Linked DNA regions of Homo sapiens: all the other regions are linked to region 3. Evidence: promoter capture Hi-C in 16 types of primary human blood cells and fetal thymus (Javierre and others, 2016). All regions are on one chromosome and are shown on one strand. Each heading gives the region's core, a stretch centred on a gene start or on the middle of the fragment in contact. The rest is flanking DNA. Distances are from core to core; before and after follow the strand shown. Region 1 holds the start of LOC105378977 (a long non-coding RNA gene). Region 2 has its middle 44 kb from the start of ANKRD55. Region 3 holds the start of LINC01948 (long intergenic non-protein coding RNA 1948). Region 4 has its middle 79 kb from the start of C5orf67. Region 5 has its middle 23 kb from the start of ANKRD55. Region 6 has its middle 94 kb from the start of MAP3K1. Region 7 has its middle 98 kb from the start of C5orf67.

Region 1 (2,700 bases), core at 161-2,660, 190 kb before region 3:
ACTAACACACTTTGTTATAATTTACAGCAAAGTTGCCATGTGTTGAGGCCGAGATTTGTTCCTTCTCTTACTTTTGCACTCCCTATTCATTATATTACTTTGGAGATGTTTGTCTTCAGAGGGCATTTATGTTTGTGTTTTTTATGTCCCCATGCAGAATAACCCCAAATTTTATTTTCAGGGGCTGCTGCATGGTCTTAAAAGATGCTTCTGAAGCGTTTATTCTTGGTTTTACTCTTGCAATTCTTCCTTGTTTCAATTCAGAGCACAGCAGAAAATGTATTCCAACCCACATTTGTGGAAGAGAAAGGAGTTGGGCTCCAGATGTTACATCTCTCCTTGAAACATAGCCTAGCCACTCCTACCTGGACATTTAGAGCTTCCCATAATGGGTCCCAAGTCAACTTCTAGCCAGCAGTGCTGTCATTTCTGTGTGTGCTCCTAGTCCCTAACAGACACCTTACCTAGCCAAGAGAACTGACTTGTGTTGGTCCCAGGTAGCTGCGTGTGGTCTGTGTGGATGAATCATAGATAAGCTTATTTTGTATTTTCCAACCAGATGTCATGGAGCTACTTAGCAGATACTGAATTACGACTCCCTAGAATAGTGTTGAACATTGACAACAGGGGTGATCCTGGTAAGGTCTGCCATCTCCATGAGGGTCTTTGTGTCCAGGCTAGGAGGCCCTTCCCTCATTTTGCCATGGATGTGGATGCAGTTGGGCCCTCTCTCCCCATGCCGAGGAGACCATTTGGGTTGGAGGAGTGCTGATGGTGGTGCCTCAAGCTCGGTTCCTGCTGCAAGTCCAGTGGTCCTGCCCCATTGAGCTGTACCTCACGCAACAGGCCATTTACTGGAAGGATATGGAAAGAAAGGATGAGGATAGAAAAACAATGCTCTCTGGTAGCATGCACTGTGAATGGGTTTGAGTCACTAGGAGATCCCACCTTCCCATCTACTTTATCTCAAGTATCATCTTATACTAGTGAGAGGTGACACTGTGCTGGCAGTCCTCACAGCCCTCGCTCACTCTCGGCGCCTCCTCTGCCTGGGCTCCCACTTTGGCGGCACTTGAGGAGCCCTTCAGCTCACTGCTGCACTGTGGGAGCCCCTTTCTGGGCTGGCCAAGGCCGGAGCCGGCTCCCTCAGCTTGCAGGGAGGTGTGGAGGGAGAGGTGCGAGCGGGAACCGGGGCTGCGTGCCGCACTTGCGGGCCAGCTGGAGTTCCGGTTGGGCGTGGCACTCGGAGCAGCCGGCCCCGGGCAATGAGGGGCTTAGCACCCGGGCCAGCTGCTGCGGAGGGTGTACTGGGTCCCCCAGCAGTGCCAGCCCACCGGCGCTGTGCTCAATTTTTCACCGGGCCTTAGCTGCCTTCCCACGAGGCAGGGCTCAGGACCTGCAGCCCTCCATGCCTGAGCCTCCCACTCCCTCCATGGGCTCCTGTGCAGCCCGAGCCTCCCCGACTAGCACGGCTCCCTGCTCCATGGCACCCACTCCCATCGACCACCCAAGGGCTGAGGAGTGCAGGTGCACGGCACGGGACTGGCAGGCAGCTCCACCTGCAGCCCCTGTGAGGGATCCACTGGGTGAAGCCAGCTGGGCTCCTGAGTCTGGTGGGGACATGGAGAACCTTTATGTCTAGCTTCAGGGATTGTAAATACACCAATCAGCACCCTGTGTCTAGCTCAGGGTTTGTGAATGCACCAATGGACACCCTGTATCTAGCTACTCTGGTGGGACCTTGGAGAACCTTTATGTCTAGCTCAGGGATTGTAAATACACCACTCTGCACTCTGTATCTAGCTCAAGGTTTGTAAACACACCAATCAGCACCCTGTGTCTAGCTCAGGGTTTGTGAATGCACCAATCCACACTCTGTTTCTAGCTACTCTGATGGGGCCTTGGAGAACCTTTATGTCTAGCTCAGGGATTGTAAATACACGAATCGGCACTCTGTATCTAGCTCAAGGTTTGTAAATACACCAATCAGCACCCTGTGTCTAGCTCAGGGTTTGTGAATGCACCAATCGACACTCTGTATGTAGCTACTCTGGTGGGGCCTTGGAGAACCTTTGTGTTGACACTCTATCTAGCTAATCTGGTGGGGACGGTGGAGAACCTTTGTGTCTAGCTCAGGGATTGTAAACGCACCAATCAGCGCCCTGTCAAAACAGACCACTTGGCTCTACCAATCAGCAGGATGTGGGTGGGGCCAGATAAGAGAATAAAAGCAGGCCACCCAAGCCAGCAGTGGCAACCCGCTCGGGTCACCTTCGACACCGTGGAAGCTTTGTTCTTTCGTCCTTTGCAATAAATCTTGCTACTGCTCACTCTTTGGGTCCACACTGCTTTTATGAGCTGTAACACTCACCTCGAAGGTCTGCAGCTTCACTCCTGAGCCAGTGAGACCACGAACCCCCTAGAAGGAAAAAACTCCGAACACATCCAAACATCAGAAGGAACAAACTCCAGACGTGCCACTTTAAGAGCTGTAACACTCACCGCGAGGGTCCGTGGCTTCATTCTTGAAGTCAGTGAGACCAAGAACCCACCAATTTCGGACACACTAGGCTCTGACAAGCAACTCTGCAAAGCAGGTAAGGCTTTTCTCCCCACAAAAGGAAAACTGGGCACTGGCCATGGGACCCAAGGATATATCTGCACTGTCTATACTTTTTAGGTTTTTCTTTCATTTTGTTT
Region 2 (2,700 bases), core at 140-2,639, 200 kb before region 3:
TCCACCTTCATCATTGTGACCAGGGGACCCGTATCATCCATCAGCACCCCTATCACCGCATGTACCTTGTGTCTGAGCAGAATCGAGCAGCCAGGTTCCAGCAGATCCTTCTCTACAAATGAAATAATGCTGTCATAGTGTTCTGAGCCCACAGATGTAGACACAATGGCATGATTGTCATCGATGATCTCTTCCAAGTTTCCTACTGACATTGGGGTCCCCCTCAGATCATCCACTTTTGATCTTCCCTCCTCTTGCTTTTCTTCTAATAGTTTTATTTGTTCCTGATTTCTAATGAATTCTTCCACCATGAGAAGGTAGTCTTTAATTCTCTCTAACTTCAGTAATTTTAACCGACACTGAGTGTGAAGTGTCACCAGTGGCAGTTTACTGGCAACATCTTGTCCCTTTGTTTTTTCTTCTTTTTCCGCCACTCTAGTTGGTACAAGAGGTTAGTACTTATTTTTCTTGTCCTTTTCATCCTTCTTGCCACGTCTAGGACCATGACCATCACCCTGACTTTGACCCACCTTGTCTTGGCCACTTGAGCTGCCACTGCTGGAAGTTCCTCCACCTCAACTATCATTTCTAAGTTCCTAATTTTTGATGCGTATTTTCTCTTGGGGATACTCACACTGGAAGGCTACCAACTTATATGTTTTCAAGAGAATAAACAGGTACTACATAAATGAATGAAGTGGGCTTGGTGTAAGACACTGGGGAGGGTAAAATATACAGAATGTCAGCTCTTGATGGGTGTTAAGGAGAGAAGTAAAGCAGGGAAAGGTGTTGGGATATGTACCTGTGGGACAGAGTAGGTGTGATGGTCAGGTTCCTGTGTCAGCTTGGCTAGGCTATAGTACCCAATGCTTAATCAAATACTAACCTAGGTGCTGCTGTGAAGGTATTTGGGGATGTGATGAACATTCACAAATAGTAGACTATAAGTAAAGCAGATTATCTTTCATAATGTGGTTGGGCCTCACCTCATCCCTTGAAGGCCTTAAGAGCAAAAATTGAGGTTTCCCAGAGAAGAAGAAATTCTGCCCTAAGACTAAAGCATCAACTCCCACCTATTCCAGCTGCTGGCCTTCCCTGCAGGCTTCAGACTTGCCAGGCTCCACAATCCCATGAGCCAATTCCTTGAAACAGATCTGAGTGTGTATGCATGTACATATTCACATATATGTACACACACACACACATACACACATTCACATCCTATTGGTGCTGTTTCTCTGGGAAATCCTGACTGATCCAGGCTCAATTTTGGATTCAGAAGCTTTTGGACATTCAGTTTGCTAATTTCAAGTCTTTGCTCAAGTGTCACATTCTCAGAGATGCCAGTCCAATCATTCTATTGAATATGAAAAATTAATCATCTTCCCAATCTGTATTCCTGATCCCCTGACCCCACTCTATTTCTTCCCACAGCAATGTAATTTTTCACATAACTGTGTTACTATTTGTGTTTATTTTCTATCACTCCTAGTATATAAGCTTCATGATAGCAGGTGTCATAGGATGACTTCCCTGGGAACAAAACTCTGAGCTGGAGATTTGTGTGCAAGGAGGGTTATGGCGGTGGGTGCTCTCAGGCACAGCAGCCACAGGGTGTGAAGGAAGCAAGATTGGGCACAGAGAAGACTTGAACTGTGATTCAGTTGCAACAGAGGTCTCCACTGATTCCCAGGGGAGCCCTGAAGCTGGGGAAGTGCTTCAGGGATGTCCTGAATTGAGACAAAGGGGGCGGGCCCCAAATCAGCCAGTCATTGGATGCAGAGTGTCCCCAGGAAGGGGACACAGCTCCCTTTGGCCAAGGGCAATTCATAGGGAGGACTCAATGTGGGTCATCAGCCAGTAACAATCCTGGCAGCTGGGGAATGAGCAGAGTGACCCTGAACAAGGATCTGGGCAGTGCACCTGGCAGGCAGCAGCCATCTTTATTTCTCTATTGCTGCATCCTCAGTTCCCAGGACAGGGCCAGGATTGTTGAATGGATGGGTGGGTGGATGAATGAATGAATGAATGAATGAATTGTTTTCAGAAAGGTCGGCATGTACAAACAGGATATGGCCACTGCTCTCAGTTGATGGGCAGAATGACAAGAGGATAAAAATAGAAAATAGGCTAATATGATCACAAAAACCATTAAGGCAGTAAAAAACAAAGAATGATAAATGAGAGAATAGAGGCTTAGGGCTATTCGAGGGAAGGGCAGTAAATACATTTATATGACAGGGCTTAGGGCTATTCGAGGGAGGAGCACTAAATACATTTATATGACAGAGTTTCCATGTCTTACACACAGATCCTGAGCAGTTGTAGGCCCAGGGTGTGCTGTTACTGGCCTGAGCAGGACCCAGGGTTAAAGAAAGCATCCTGCGAACACAAGGAACAACTGGCTCCCGTGACAGAACTTTTAACCAGCCTTTTCTCAAATCTGTTGACTTAACGCAGGCCAGGGAATTCTTTGAAAGGCAACATGGCTATAAATCAGCAAGTCCTGCGAACGTGCATTCCAGGGTCTTGGAGGAAAGGGCTGCACACAAAAGCACCTCTTCTAAGTCTTCAGGAATGCTGTGGTGAGTGGCCCTGGAGGTCTCGGGGTTAGACTCTGGGGCTGGGAATGAAAAGCATCCAGGAAAGGGGAGAAGGGAAGCCCCAGCAGAGCAGCGCAGCTTGCTTCTAAGGACAGCA
Region 3 (2,700 bases), core at 88-2,587:
TGCCCTCCTGATACTTGCAGCTGGTGTTTAAGGACGTGCCTGCCTTGGGCGATGGGCGGGTAGAAACCTCACACACCAAAGCCCATCGAGCTAAACTCAAGGTTGCGAACCCCAACCCCGGTGGGAACACGGTCTGCAGACACGCTCCCTTAAGTCCCTGTCGCACACAATAAATTGCTTTCTGAATATTCCCTTTACAACTGCAAAAAATAGAAATGGCTGTAACTGTGCAGAGAAAGAAAAGAGAAGCTGGGATGAGCTCCATCAGGGGCCGAATCTGCTTCTCGCTGGTGGATACTGTGATAAGAAACCTAGATCTGAACGGCCTCACAATGGCCTATTTATCCGGCTCTTACGCACGGCCGGCAGCCCCGGCTGGGAATCACGGGGGTGGCAGCCGTCCCCGGAAAACGGCGGCATTCCGACACAGGAAAGCCCGCGGATCAACTGATCTGCAGACAACGCTTCTTCCTTCCTGGGAAGCGGCCACAAAGGCAGCCAGCTGACCCCGGCCCAGCGCGGCTCCCGGCCGAGGAGGACAGGGGCGGGGTGGGGAGGGGGGGAATCGTCGCCCGCCCCGCCCCCACCCCCCAAGTTTCCTTTGGCAAAAGCATCCCAGGCGTGGTTCAGGCAGAGTCCACGCCAGCGAGGCTGGGGCCGAAACTCTCCACGCCAGGAAGGCGGGGTAGGCGGACCCGCCGCCCCCAGCCCCGCGCGCCCGCCGCGCCCCCCACGGCCCCCACCAGCTGGCTCTTCCGGCCGGGGCGGCCTTGGCCTGGGGCTGGGGTTGACTTTGGTGGGGGGACAGGAAGGACTGGCACAGCGCCCGCGACTGTCCCCTGAGGAGGACCCTCCCTACGACTTTTGGTCAAAAGCAAAAAGAAACACAGACATGTGCGTCACCCCGGGAAGCGCGCGGGGGTTTCGCTCGCGTTTCAGGAGCCGACTTCGCATCCTCCCTCGGTAGGGGGGTCGGGGGTTCCTAAAATTTACCCCCCAACTTCACTTCTCTGGCGACAGAGCACCTTAACAGTTCATTTCCCTCTCGCTCTCAAGTGAAAACATCTTATTTTTGTGTTAAAATGTATAAAGACACCATGAGAATTGGCAGGAGGTCAAACCGTAGATTCTGAGATGCTCCGGTCGCTCCCCAGGAAGCGCTGTTTTCGGAAGTGTTGACCCAGCAGCTGGTCCCTGCTGCTCTAATGACACGATGTGTGCTTTCACTTTTTCACTCCCAAAACGACGTGGTTTGGAGTCTTGAGAGCCTTGGAAATCGCTGCCCGTGGAGGGAAAGGTCTGGAGAGGCCAGGCCAGGAGAGCAGACATGCTGCAAGAAGCGGAGGCAGCCCTGTGAACTCGCCTGGCTCCGCAGGGAGGGGCGAGGCTGTCCAGGTCGCAGGTGGAGCTGGCCAGCTGCGAGCCAGGATGTCCTTGCTCTTTCCAAATTATACACAGTTTCCACAAGGAAAAAAGAGAGGGGTAGGGGGTCCAGGCAGATCTTCAGCTGTTTGTATACTCTGCACCAGGAGGCGCTATCATCAGCCCGGACCCCTACTCCACAGGACTGAGGAGACCACAATTCTTCCCTCCAGGCAGAATCGTGGACCCAATATTCCCGTCTCCCCGAATTCTCTTAACTCAGTATACTGCCATTAACAGCATAGTCAGCCTTCTGGACTTGAACTCCAGAAGGAATTTTGTCTCATTTAGTGCCTGCAGGGGAGCAGGATGAGATAGTACCTCTTGTACCGGCACAAGGTCTCTGAGTTGACTCTTACATAAACATTGCGCTGTTTCTAGGGACGGCATCATTTCTTGACCTAGAGAAACAAAGATATTGTGGGAAGGACCCCTGATGCTCAGTGGCAGTTTGGAGACCTGGCATTAGCCTTACTCAGTAAGGCTTCCTGATCTAGCAGGACTGATCCAGTCAGCTTTGATGATCCCCTAGCCTGGTACTGGGATTCTTCCAAACACCCATGAGATCACCCACATCTCACAGGGGCTGGTAGTGTTCCAGCAGAGAAAGGTGAGGGTAGCAAGCAGTAGTCACTTTGGGCCTGAAATGAACATCTTGGGGTTTTTATATCTGCCCACCCACTATGGGACATTATTGTCCCTTCCTCTTTGCTACAGTGTTTCCAGAAAATGAGAAGTAGCATCTTCTTAGAAATAGATTGGGTACCCTGTCTTAGACCTAGTTCCTTTTTTTTTGTTTTTTTGAGACGCTGTCTCACTCTGTCTCCCAGGCTGGAGTACAGTGGTGCGATCTGGGCTCACTGCAACCTCCGCCTTGGGGGTTCAAGTAATTCTCCTGCCTCAGCCTCCTGAGTAGCTGGGAATCCAGGTGTGTGCCACCACACTCGGCTAATTTTTGTATTTTTAATAGAGACAGGGTTTCACCATATTGGCCAGGCTACCCTTGAACTCCTGACCTCAAGTGATTCGCCTGCCCCAGCCTCCCAAAGAGCTGGGCAGTTACTTTTATTATAGTTCTAGATAACATAGAAAAGAACATGGAAAGCAGCTATGCAAGCAAAACACAAACACAAACAACCCTGTTAAAAAGTGGGCAAAAGACATGAACAGACACTTCTCAAAAGAAGACATGCAAGCAGCCAACAAATGTGAAAAGATGCTCAGCATTGCTGATTATCAGAGAAATGCAAATCAAAACCACGATGAGATCTCACACCA
Region 4 (2,700 bases), core at 14-2,513, 200 kb after region 3:
GCCTGATAAAGTTGATGAAATCAGGATTCAAACCTAGGCTGTCTGATACAGGCCCACAGGCTTAACCACTACACCACACTGCCTTTCTCCATGTATGCCACAAGGACTTAATATGAGTGGCTTACAAGGACTCATATTAAGTGACTTCCCAGTCAACTCTTTGTGCTCACATCACATCTCCTCAGCCCACCTCTGATTTCAGCCCTGGTTTTGGCATTGAGTTCTAGAAATCTCAGGTCATTTTCTTGCTTTCTGCCTCAGGACCTCCTGTGAAGGTGTGGGAGCCCAGGCAGGCCACTTTCAAGTCAGCTTGGAAATCCTCAAGCAATGAGGCGTGAGAACTGTGAAGAAGTGCCCCAGGCTCCAGCATAACAAAGGACAATCTGGAGACTTTCCATGCACTTCTTAGAACGCCAGGGTAACCATGCTCCCGTTGTCCACAGCATCAGCCTTGATAACATACCCTAATATTTTCCTTTCTGCCACATTCTCTCCATCCCCTCATTCCTGCTTCTTGGGTTCAACTCCTAAATAAACTACCTGCACGTGAGATCTACTGTCGGGCTTGCTTTTGGGGAACCAAACTTAGACATCCTGCCTTTGCAGCTTGATGAACCACACTGTTTCTTGGGGCTCCTTCCTAATCTGTTATTCAGATTTTTACATCCTACACAAATTTTCAGCAACCTGCCCTGAATGAAGTCCATCAGGGCATACATTCCAGAAGGAGCTACTGCCAGTACATGAGACAATTCTCTTGTGTTAAAATTTACCTAAAGGTTCCGGGCTGTGAGTTGCTGAATCTGCATTTCCACCTAGTTTTCCCAGAAGTGGCTGTTCATCCAGGAAGACTTGTTCTGCTCACTAGTCTATACGGAAGGCTTGGCATAGTTCTGTACTCAGTTATCCAGAAAGACAGTTCTGGTCCTCATATAATCGTGTGGATGTGTTTAGAGATTCTGTAAGGTGAAAAAGCAATCTGCCAGTGCATTAATTTGGAGAAACTATGTATTTCTATTTTAAAACTGGAAAATTGCTTTTTAAAATTTGTCATTTCTCCAAATATTTTATTTTTCACTATGCTAAGTGATCCAAATGCATTGTACATTCCCTATGCTGTAGGTACAATTATTGTGCCCTCTAACCACTATAGATGCACAATAAACTCAGAGTAATAAATTAACATTCAAGACAAATCATTAAATTCATGTTCACAATTCCCCCCATAAAGAAAGACTGTAAGCATCTCTTTAAAGGTATGTGACAGTAAGGTTATTTTGGCTTAAGACCAATTTTCAGTGCACAGATCAAGAATGTTACTTATTCTTTTATTTGTTTGTGTTTTAATTGTGGTGAAATATACATAGAATTAATCATGTTAGCCATTTTCACTGTTCAGTTCAATAGTGTTAAGTATATTTGCACTGTTGTACAATGAGTCTCCAGAACCTTTTCATCTTGCAAAACTAAAATTTTCTATCCATTAAACAACTCCTTGTTTCTCCCTTCCCCAGCCCTTGGCAGCCACCTTCTACCTTCTATTTTTATGACTTCACATACTCTAGATATCTCATAGAAGTGAAGTCATACAGTATTTGTCCTTCTGTGACTGGCTTGTTTCACTTAGCATAATGTCCTTGAAGTTCATCCATGTAGTAACTTCCTTTTTAAGGCTGAATAGTATTCTACTCATGCAAATACCACATTTTGTCTATTCATTCATCCATCCGTATACACTTTGTGTGGCTTCTACTTCTTGACTATTGTGAATAGCTCTGCTATGAACATGGGTGCACCAGCAAGTTGCTGTTAATGAAAATGATTCATTCTGTAGTGTTCCTTCCAGCTCACAGTCTTACATTCCTGTTATCAAGAAAAGCTAACTTAAAGTCCTTCTTACTCAGTTATCCACATTTGGAATTAGCTTAACCTGTTGGCCTAACAGTCATGACCCAGTGTAACCACTCATGTCTCAGCACAGATGACAAAACGCAACTTGGCTAGGAGGAAATAGGCTCAGTGGAGGGCTGGCCTTGGAGAACTCATCTTAACAAAGTGGAGACAAAGTTATTTTGGGAGGTCATGTAAGCAGAGTGATTATCATCATGGGGTCTGGGATCAAAATCCCAGCTCCAGCCTTCACTAGCTGTGTGACCTTGAGAAAGTTACTTAACCTCCCTAAACCTCAGTTCCTAATCTCTAAACAGAGGCAGTGATCATAATAGTATGGACATCTAGGAACATGGTGAGGAGTAAATAAAATAATCCATGTTAAGAATTTAGTGTCTGGCATACAGTAAGCGCCCAACAACTGTTAGCCCATATTCTGTAGTTACAGGTCACTGTTCCAAACCCCTCAATTTACAGAGGAGGCTCAGCAAGTTGAAGGAACATTTACTCCTGCCTTCACACGTAGCCATATGCATATGCAGACACAAAGCCACAGAGCTCCGTGTGTGCAAAGACCCCCTGTTTGATTTTAAAACCCTTGTGATCAGGGCTTTACTATCTAGCTATGAAAGTTTGGTTTATCTCAAAACTTTGATTTAAAAAACACGTCAATTAACCTAAGTTTGACCCTGAGAGCCCACAGGCTTAAAAACAAAAGCTAAAAAACAGGAACTGAAAAAGTTAAAAAAAAAAAAAATGTGAGCAAAACTAAGTAAACAGCATGCACACTTTTCTACTTTTCTGCTAAGA
Region 5 (2,700 bases), core at 86-2,585, 230 kb before region 3:
CAGTTTCTTTGTAAGAAAGCAATTGCAAAACCACAGCTTTGAATATGAGAATGTGAATTCAGATGGATTTCAACAATTGTGAGCAGCCCTGTTTAATTCCAAGAGTAAGGTTTCTGTTATGACTTTTCACTTTTTGCACTAGGCTGGCAAGAGTGACTTAAATAACTGCAATAGAGAATCAAAATCCGTTCACTGCAAGATGAAAAACCTTAGCAGAAACCCCATTCCCCAAATTAAACAAGGCTGTTTATAATAATTGACACTTATTCTAATTCACTTTCTGGTATTCAGAGCTGTGGCTTTGTAATTGCTTTTTCAAGGGGAGATATTGGCATTTCTAGACTACAAAGCAGCACATGGTATCAAGATGTGTTTTGTTTCTCATGAATAATGATGCTGAACACCTTTCTCATTTGCATATTGATCATTTTCATATCCTCTTTTGTGGAGTGCTTGTTCAGGATTCTGGCTCAACATTAAAAATTGTGTTGTATATCTTTTTCTTATCAATTTATAGAACTTTTATACAAGAATATAGTCTAGATATAAATTCTTTGCCATATGTGTGTGTGCATGCAAATGTCTGAATAACAAATATTTTATACCAGTCTGAGGTTTGCTTTTTCCATTCTCTTAACCATGTCATTCATTGAACAGAATTTCTTTATTTTAATTAAATCCAATTTATCAGTATTTCCATGTGTTCTGTCTAAGAAACTATGGCCTAACCTGAGGTCCCTGAACATATTTACTGTGTTTTCTTCTAGAATTTTTATTGTTTTACTTTTCGTCTTTAGATATATGATCTACCTTGAATTAATTTTTGTGTATAATGTGAGGTAAGGGACAAGAGTCTTTTTTTCCCATATGAATATACACTTGAACCACCACCATTTATTGAAAAGATAATTCTTTCTCCACTGAGTTTCTGTGATGCCTTTATCATAAATCAGATTTATCATAAATCCTATGGATGTGGGTCTGTTTCTGAAGTCTAATTTATTCCATGATCTGTTGTCTTTTCTTGTTCCAGTACCATACTGTTTTAATTTCTCTAGCTTTGATATCAGGTTTTGTCTTTTTTCTTCAGTATTGCCTTAGCTATTCAGAGTTCTTTTTATTTCCATATCAATTTTACAAATAGCTTATCAATTTCTACCAAAAAAATTGATAGCATTTTTATTGGGATTGCATTGAATTTATATATCCATTTGGAATGACTTGATATCTTAAGACTGTTGCATCTTTGAATTCCATGTTCATGATATTACCTGTCATTTACTTAGATCTTCTTTTACTTCTCTCAGCAACTATCTGTAGTTTTCATCGTAGAGATCTTATACAACTTCTATCAGATTTATTCTACATAATTGATGTTTTTGGTGCTTTAAAAATTTTACCAATTGTTTGTCTCTTTTTAAAAATAGATTCATTTCCCCAATGAAATTCTCCAACCTTTCTTCCATTTTGTCTATCATTTTCTCCATTCTCTTGACCATATTAATCACAGTTATTTTAAACTCCCTGTCAGTTATTGTTAACATCTGATTCACCTATAAATCTATTTACTTTAAATAAATTTCTACTTGGATTTCCATAATTTGGTTCAAAGCCTGGACGGTTCAAAGCCTGGAACATTCGCCAAGGTTTTTCTATTTTGGAAAGGTTTTAATTATGACCTTTGCCTCCCTAGTACTGAAATCTCTGATCAGATCTTCAGCTATCCTCCTTCCCTCCCTCCCTGCCTCCCTTCCTTCATTCCTTCCTTCCTGTCTCCCTCCTTCCCTTCCTTCTCTCTTTCTTTCTTTCTCTTTCTTTCTTTATCTTTCTTTCTTTCTTTCTCTTTCTTTCTTCTTTCTTTCCTTTCTTTTCTCTTTCTCTCCTTTCTTTCTTTTCTCTCTCTCCTCCCCTCCCTCTCTCCCTCCCTTCTTTCCTTCCTTCTTTTCCTCTCTCCCTCCTCCCTCCCTTCCTCCCCCCTCTCTTTCTTTGTGTCTTTCTCTCCTTCTATTTCTTTATTTCTTGTTTCATATTTTGTGTGCCAGCTTAGGAACCCATAAACTTTAGGGAAATAAGTTTGCAGAATTGTAGGCACCTTTGTTGTTTCCCTTCTTCAGGACTTTCCTAAGTCCTGCCTGCTTTGGCAGCTCCAAATTCTTACTTCTACTTTCTCAGCCCACTAAGACTGTTGTATTTGTATATCCCTATTCTGCAGTGTGTACATGTCCTCAAGAGAATATCTGGAATGTATGTGGACCTCATGCCATAGGGTTTTCTTTAAATCTCGCTTGTGCTTGGTGTCTCCAGTGCCTTCAGGCAATTGCTTTATGTATTTTGTGCAACGTTTATAATTTTTTTTTAAATTTTTTTAGTATTTATTGATCATTCTTGGGTGTTTCTCGGAGAGGGGGATTTGGCAGGGTCATAGGACAATAGTGGAGGGAAGGTCAGCAGATAAACATGTGAACAAAGGTCTCTGGTTTTCCTAGGCAGAGGGCCCTGCCGCCTTCCGCAGTGTTTGTGTCCCTGGGTACTTGAGATTAGGGAGTGGTGATGACTCTTAACGAGCATGCTGCCTTCAAGCATCTGTTTAACAAAGCACATCTTGCACGGACCTTAATCCATTTAACCCTTAGTGGACATAGCACATGTTTCAGAGAGCACGGGGTTGGGGGTAAGGTTATAGATTAACAGCATCCCAAG
Region 6 (2,700 bases), core at 194-2,693, 240 kb after region 3:
GAAGCCTACAGTCTAGAAACAAGTCAGGATTTAAACGTGGATTCTATTATTCCCAAAAGGAATGGTGCCATGTCTTACTTTCTGTTGTTTTTATGTAAACTTAACAGGATTTTTTTTTTCTCTTTCAGGATCACCCAATTGTAAATTTCATAGCTTCTTTCTTTTCCCTTTAGCTGTTTATATCAGTTTTTCAAATGGTTCATATAAAAAGTTTATATACTCTAAAGCCTTCCAATAAATCTAAGTTGTATACACTGTGATCTCTAGAAAAGTTACCTTTTCTATGGTAATTAACTTAGAGCTGTATTGTCTTATTTTAATAAATCATTTAACACTTGATATTCTCATTGACAAATAATATTCATTAAAAAAATTCCTAAGCAGAAGAGATGGATTAGAAGTTCAGACAATAATTGATATCTTAATAAAGATTCCTTCATATTTAGCAGATTACATTTTATCGCTCAGTTTAGAAATTGGCATCCCAAATGTTGTAGAAACAAAAATATGAGTATTCTTGGGATAGTCTTATTTTGAAAGCGTAAGAAAACCCTTGACAATTGTACACAAAAGATCCAGACTCTCAGCAGTGACTTGGGAGGAGGATGCAGTTCCTAACAGCAGCAAGGCAGCAAAAAAAAAAAAAAAGGCACCTCACCTACTTATAAAGGAAAAATTATTTGGACCTATTCTTGTGCTCAATTGTCCCCTCAGCATAGAATATATGCAACTGCTTCATTAGCACCACCATCAATTAGAAGTTCTTTGCAGTCTAAACATATTGGACAACTTTATTTCTGAAGGGAAGCAGTGTCCAGTTCCCCAGGCTATTGCAATGCCAAATCCCAGAAGCAAAACAAGATTTTCTTCATTGCTCTAATGGGACGCAAGATGTTCCTGAGGTTTAAAGTTTGACTTTTACAGGCACTTTCCTTTTGCCTTCAGAACTATTTTATACTTACGTGGTATGGTCCTTCAATTTCCACAGGCAAATTTATTTCCTAAAACAGAAGTCAAAAGTCAAAGAAGACTAAAAGACTTCAGTCCAGAGACTTCTGAAGACCTTGGATTTCATTTATATTTTTTGTGCCTTGGGTAATTATTTATGTGGCTTATGTTATTTTGGATAAAGAGGACTTGCTCTTAAAATTAGATGAATGGAAAAACATGACAAGTCAATGCATTTATAGAATACTGGCATGGAATATGCACTATTGCTTCACTTTCACTATTTAATCACTAATAATTAGATCTTGAAATAAGTAGATGTATATTAGTTATATAACCAAACCTTTACCTTTCATCAGTGTTTATTTACAAGGCACGATTATTTTCAATAGATATAGTTTTTCTTTCTAAAGTGTTTTTTGTTGTTGTTGTTGTTTTGAGATGGAGTCTCGCTCTGTCACCAGGCTGGAGTGCAGTGGTGCGATCTCGGCTCACTGCGACCCCTGCCTCCCAGGTTCAAGCAATTCCCCTGCCTCAGCCTCCCCAGTAGCTGGGACTATAGGCGTGCACCACTACGCCCAGCTAATTGTTTGCATTTTAGTAGAGATGGGGTTTCACCATGTTGGCCAGGATGGTCTTAATCGCCTGACCTCATGATCGGCCTGCCTCGGCCTCCCAAAGTGCTGGGATTATAGGCGTGAGCCACCACTCCCAGCCTCTAAAGTTTTATGTAATATTTTGCCCCTGAACCTGTTCTCTTTTTTATTATTCTGTTCCATTATTATGATTTTCCCTTATTTTCTTACTTTAAACATATTTATTTTGTAGCATTCTACATTTCATATTGCCTAAGTTTTGCGATATAAACTTTTCTGCTTTTTGTTCTATCATTTTGTTCTGTGGCATGGGGTGGGGTGTATTTTGTATGTTGGGAATTGTAAAAAAGGACATAGAGAGTGATTTTGAGACTTCATCTAAAAGAAGCCCCCATGTTTTCATCAGGCCATAGTCAGTTTCTACATTAATTTCTCAGCTTGGGATTCCCCAACATACCCGTAGGGTAAATTTGGATTCCACACCCATGCATGGCACACTTGTGAAGTTTCCATTTATCATGGGAAGTATTTTTTCCATCGAAACCCAGGGTATTCTTGCATTTCCTGAGAGCTTCCCTGGGCCAGTGGGCGGTTTTCAAATTTCTCTTTTACTGAAGGAGCAGGCATTCATGACTCTGGGTTTTGCATTTATGGAAGTAAATACAGTAGGAGAATGATAAATAAACCATGTTATATTATACAGGGATTAAAAAGTAATAATGACTTCCAAGACATAGTTTGAAGTTGCAGCATGATACATATAGTGTGATACATACCCACATATATATACATATAAGAAGCAGTACCAAATATTTTTATAGGTGCATATATACGTATATGAGAACAGAGAAAAGGTATGGATAGATACATGCTATAGTAGTAGTACTAGAGGTTGAGCTTAGAATTGGAACTCAGGTCAAGAAATGAGAAGAGGCTATAGCTTTATGGGTTGCATCTAATTTAGTCAATGAAAATGTAGATGTATATTAGTTATATAACTAAAAATCAATAGTTATATTTAATTATATTTAAACAGAGACCACGTAACTGAATTCACAATAGCTTCTTTTTCACCTTATGTAATTTCTCAATCAACAGATACTAAAAAGTCATGTTAATTCATGAAAATTGTTGAGGCACAACGGGCCTCACAATG
Region 7 (2,700 bases), core at 192-2,691, 220 kb after region 3:
TTACTGTTCTGGAATGTATCATATAGATGTTGGTATCTCTGCACTTTTCTAATCATAAACTGTTACAGATGGGTTTCCAGAGTTCTGTAGGTCACAGGATGAAAATCATTCTCCCTTGCCCTATCTCTCGTTCTTTTATAATCGCAGGGGTTTTTTTGACCTAGTTTTTTGTCCATCTCTAGTAGAGATACTCTTCTTTCCGACTTTCCCCTAAAGGGCTATATTTATATTGCACCTGATATTTTCCCCAACCTCTGAGTAGGAAGATGAACCTGGCAAGCATCTTTCTTCAAATCATTTATCATGCTTGCAAATGGCTGGCATGAGTCCACATTATTTCCTCCGCATTCCAATGCATGTTTTAAAGGCATCTTTTAATGTACCATTTAGGAAAGAGCTCCATACATCAAGAAACAAAAAACAGCCAAGGAATCTAATATTCTGTCCAAGACCTGTGAAGGAGATGCTGATATTGGTTCATTTGAATCAAGCCTTCTAGAAATGAATCTGGATATGAGTTAGTAGTGGATTTAAAAAAAGGAGTGTGGCATTGTCCTTCTGGGGCCTATTTCAAGAGAGGGGAAAAAAAAGACTTCATCTGTAAGCCATTTGAGAAAAAAACTGATGGGGCAGTTCTCTCCAAATGCTTTGCTTCGGCCTCTAACAAGAGAAAAGCTGCCACTTCCCTCCCATCTCTTTTTCCATCTTCTAATTCATGTCCTTTAAAAAACTTGATTGTGTAAATCACTACAGTCCCCACTTGCTCAGTTGTCCTAGTTTAGGCTGTCATTATTGTTCTCCCTTGCTGGAATGGCCTCCTAATTCATCTGCCCACCTGTGCTTTCTTCCCACCACAGTCTACCCTTCCCACTGCCCCAGAGAAAACTTGGTAAAGGACAGATCTGGTCATGTCCCTCTTGTGATTTAAAAGTCTCAGAGGCTCCCACTGCCTGCAGGGGAAAGTCCACACACACTAGCATAACACACCAAGTCCTTCCTGTTCCACCCCGCTCACCTTTCTCCCTCATCTCAGGAGCTCTGTGCCCCATGCCGTCCTGGCCCAGCCTCAGTAGATTGCTCATCTGCTCTCCCTTTGGTGCCCTACCCTCTTGCCTGTTGGCCTCTCAGAGTGAAAACCCTTTTCCTTTTCTCTGCTGGTTTGACTTCTACTCAACCTCCAGGATTTAGCTCATATGTCTCCTTCTCTCAAGGTTTCCCCAGCTCCACTCAGCATACCTCCAATATATTTCTAATTTAGCAGGTATATTTTAATAATTTTACTTTACCATCTCTACTCAGCCCCACCAGCTCTCAGAGGATAAGGACTATGTTTTCATTATCTATAATGCCCCCCAGGGGCACTAACTCCTATGAACATCCAATCTGCCCTGCTTTGAAAAAAAAATCTCAAGGAAAGAAGCTGAGAGATGTTGCAGCAGGTGCTTGAGGTAGGCTCCTGGTGGCAAAACTGGATCTGTTCACCATAGCTGCAGCTGAAATCAGGTGAGCAGAATGCATGTAGCCCGGGGCACAAAATATGTCTGCCACAGGCATGTTGATTTGAATAAGCATGGAAATGCAGGGTAGGAGGGCACGTCACAGGCCCCAGCCCAGCTGCCCATGCAGCATAGGAATGCTTTTACAGATTGCTTCAATGGGGAGCTTCCACTGTTCTCCCTCCTTTGACATGAGCAAATGATATCACCAGACAGCTTGTTGATGGGCATTTTTGCCAAACATAATTAATCTGATTTTAATGATAATAATAGTAACATTATCAAGTGCTTATTTTATGCCAAGTAGTGTCCTAAGAGCTTTGCATGTACAGTTTGATTTTCATAAGCACCATATGTGGTAAATACATTCATTAATTATACACCCATTTTCTAGGTAGAGTGTAGCAGATGCTGCCTGTGCCCTATCCACCTCCCCTCAAGCCTCCCCATTTTAGTGCAGGCAAGCAGAACTCCCCAATGCCAGCACCTGCAGCTCTTGGCCAGAGATCATTCTCCAGTACAAAAGCCCACTTTCCTGCAGTATGTTTGGTCAGAAGTACCAGAGAATTAACACCTCCTAGAAGCATTCCTCAATCAATGACTGAGAGGATTGCTTCTCAAGTGGGTTGGCTCTGAGTTATGTGGTCTACACTGGCTCCCAGAGTTCCCTAGAGGGGTTAAGCTCTGGTTTGTCTGCAATTGTAACACGCTTGATAATTCACCTGTTATTGGCTGCCTTACCTCCCCCTGCTCACTTTCCCACTCTCTTACCAGTGTTTCCTGGAATACCTTCTAGTATTTGCATTTTGAAACCTGATCTCTAGGTCTACTTCTGGAGGAACCTAACAAAGATAATCGGGCCAAGGCACTAAGAAGATCCAGGACTTGCCCGTGATGATTTCTCACTCTAGGGCCCACACTCTTATCCACTACCCCGTACTGTTAACTCATCCAGGTTTTCCCGCTGTAAAAACAAACAGCCGTCATTTCCTTCCTCTATGCCCAAATATGTGAAGACAGCCAAAGACTCTCCAATTCCTTCTGCCATGACTGTTACAAACATGGTTTCCATACCAATCATCCTCTCGTGAGGCAACCTCTCCCCTGCACAAATTCTCCACTTAAAATTAAACACATGAATTTTTTTCTGCTTTTTACCTTACATATTTCATCTATCTGCTTTTTATTCCTGTGCCATTATAGA

Evidence for each region. Contacts are between HindIII fragments. The CHiCAGO score rates a contact against its expected background, and 5 or more counts as called.
Region 1: a fragment that was not itself captured here is called in contact with the fragment with the promoter of LINC01948 in region 3 in 2 of 17 cell types (total B cells and naive B cells); the score reaches 7.3 in total B cells.
Region 2: a fragment that was not itself captured here is called in contact with the fragment with the promoter of LINC01948 in region 3 in 10 of 17 cell types (total B cells, naive B cells, M2 macrophages and 7 more); the score reaches 24.7 in total B cells.
Region 4: a contact is called between a fragment that was not itself captured here and the fragment with the promoter of LINC01948 in region 3, in 3 of 17 cell types (total B cells, naive B cells and non-activated CD4 T cells). The highest score is 10.9, in total B cells.
Region 5: a contact is called between a fragment that was not itself captured here and the fragment with the promoter of LINC01948 in region 3, in 2 of 17 cell types (naive B cells and neutrophils). The highest score is 8.1, in naive B cells.
Region 6: a contact is called between a fragment that was not itself captured here and the fragment with the promoter of LINC01948 in region 3, in 2 of 17 cell types (naive B cells and total B cells). The highest score is 7.0, in naive B cells.
Region 7: a contact is called between a fragment that was not itself captured here and the fragment with the promoter of LINC01948 in region 3, in 6 of 17 cell types (total B cells, naive B cells, non-activated CD4 T cells and 3 more). The highest score is 16.5, in total B cells.

The regions. Positions count from the first base shown.
Region 1 is chr5:56,294,184-56,296,883 of GRCh38, forward strand. LOC105378977 (a long non-coding RNA gene) reads left to right here and starts at 2,253. Exons shown (of 3, transcript XR_948342.3): 1 at 2,253-2,597. The HindIII fragment of the contact is 1,752 bases long and covers 535-2,286 here.
Region 2 is chr5:56,276,099-56,278,798 of GRCh38, forward strand. It overlaps the pseudogene PSMC1P4. Among named protein-coding and RNA genes, the nearest start is that of ANKRD55, 44 kb to the left of the region's middle. The HindIII fragment of the contact is 218 bases long and covers 1,281-1,498 here.
Region 3 is chr5:56,480,432-56,483,131 of GRCh38, forward strand. LINC01948 (long intergenic non-protein coding RNA 1948) reads right to left here and starts at 1,338. Exons shown (of 5, transcript NR_104664.1): 1 at 1,122-1,338. RefSeq lists an enhancer at 1,107-1,266. The HindIII fragment of the contact is 6,332 bases long and covers 1-2,700 here.
Region 4 is chr5:56,684,034-56,686,733 of GRCh38, forward strand. No RefSeq gene overlaps it. Among named protein-coding and RNA genes, the nearest start is that of C5orf67, 79 kb to the left of the region's middle. RefSeq lists an enhancer at 2,575-2,700. The HindIII fragment of the contact is 3,405 bases long and covers 1-2,700 here.
Region 5 is chr5:56,255,332-56,258,031 of GRCh38, forward strand. No RefSeq gene overlaps it. Among named protein-coding and RNA genes, the nearest start is that of ANKRD55, 23 kb to the left of the region's middle. RefSeq lists an enhancer at 2,288-2,700. The HindIII fragment of the contact is 8,279 bases long and covers 1-2,700 here.
Region 6 is chr5:56,720,403-56,723,102 of GRCh38, forward strand. No RefSeq gene overlaps it. Among named protein-coding and RNA genes, the nearest start is that of MAP3K1, 94 kb to the right of the region's middle. The HindIII fragment of the contact is 4,821 bases long and covers 1-2,700 here.
Region 7 is chr5:56,703,149-56,705,848 of GRCh38, forward strand. No RefSeq gene overlaps it. Among named protein-coding and RNA genes, the nearest start is that of C5orf67, 98 kb to the left of the region's middle. The HindIII fragment of the contact is 5,252 bases long and covers 1-2,700 here.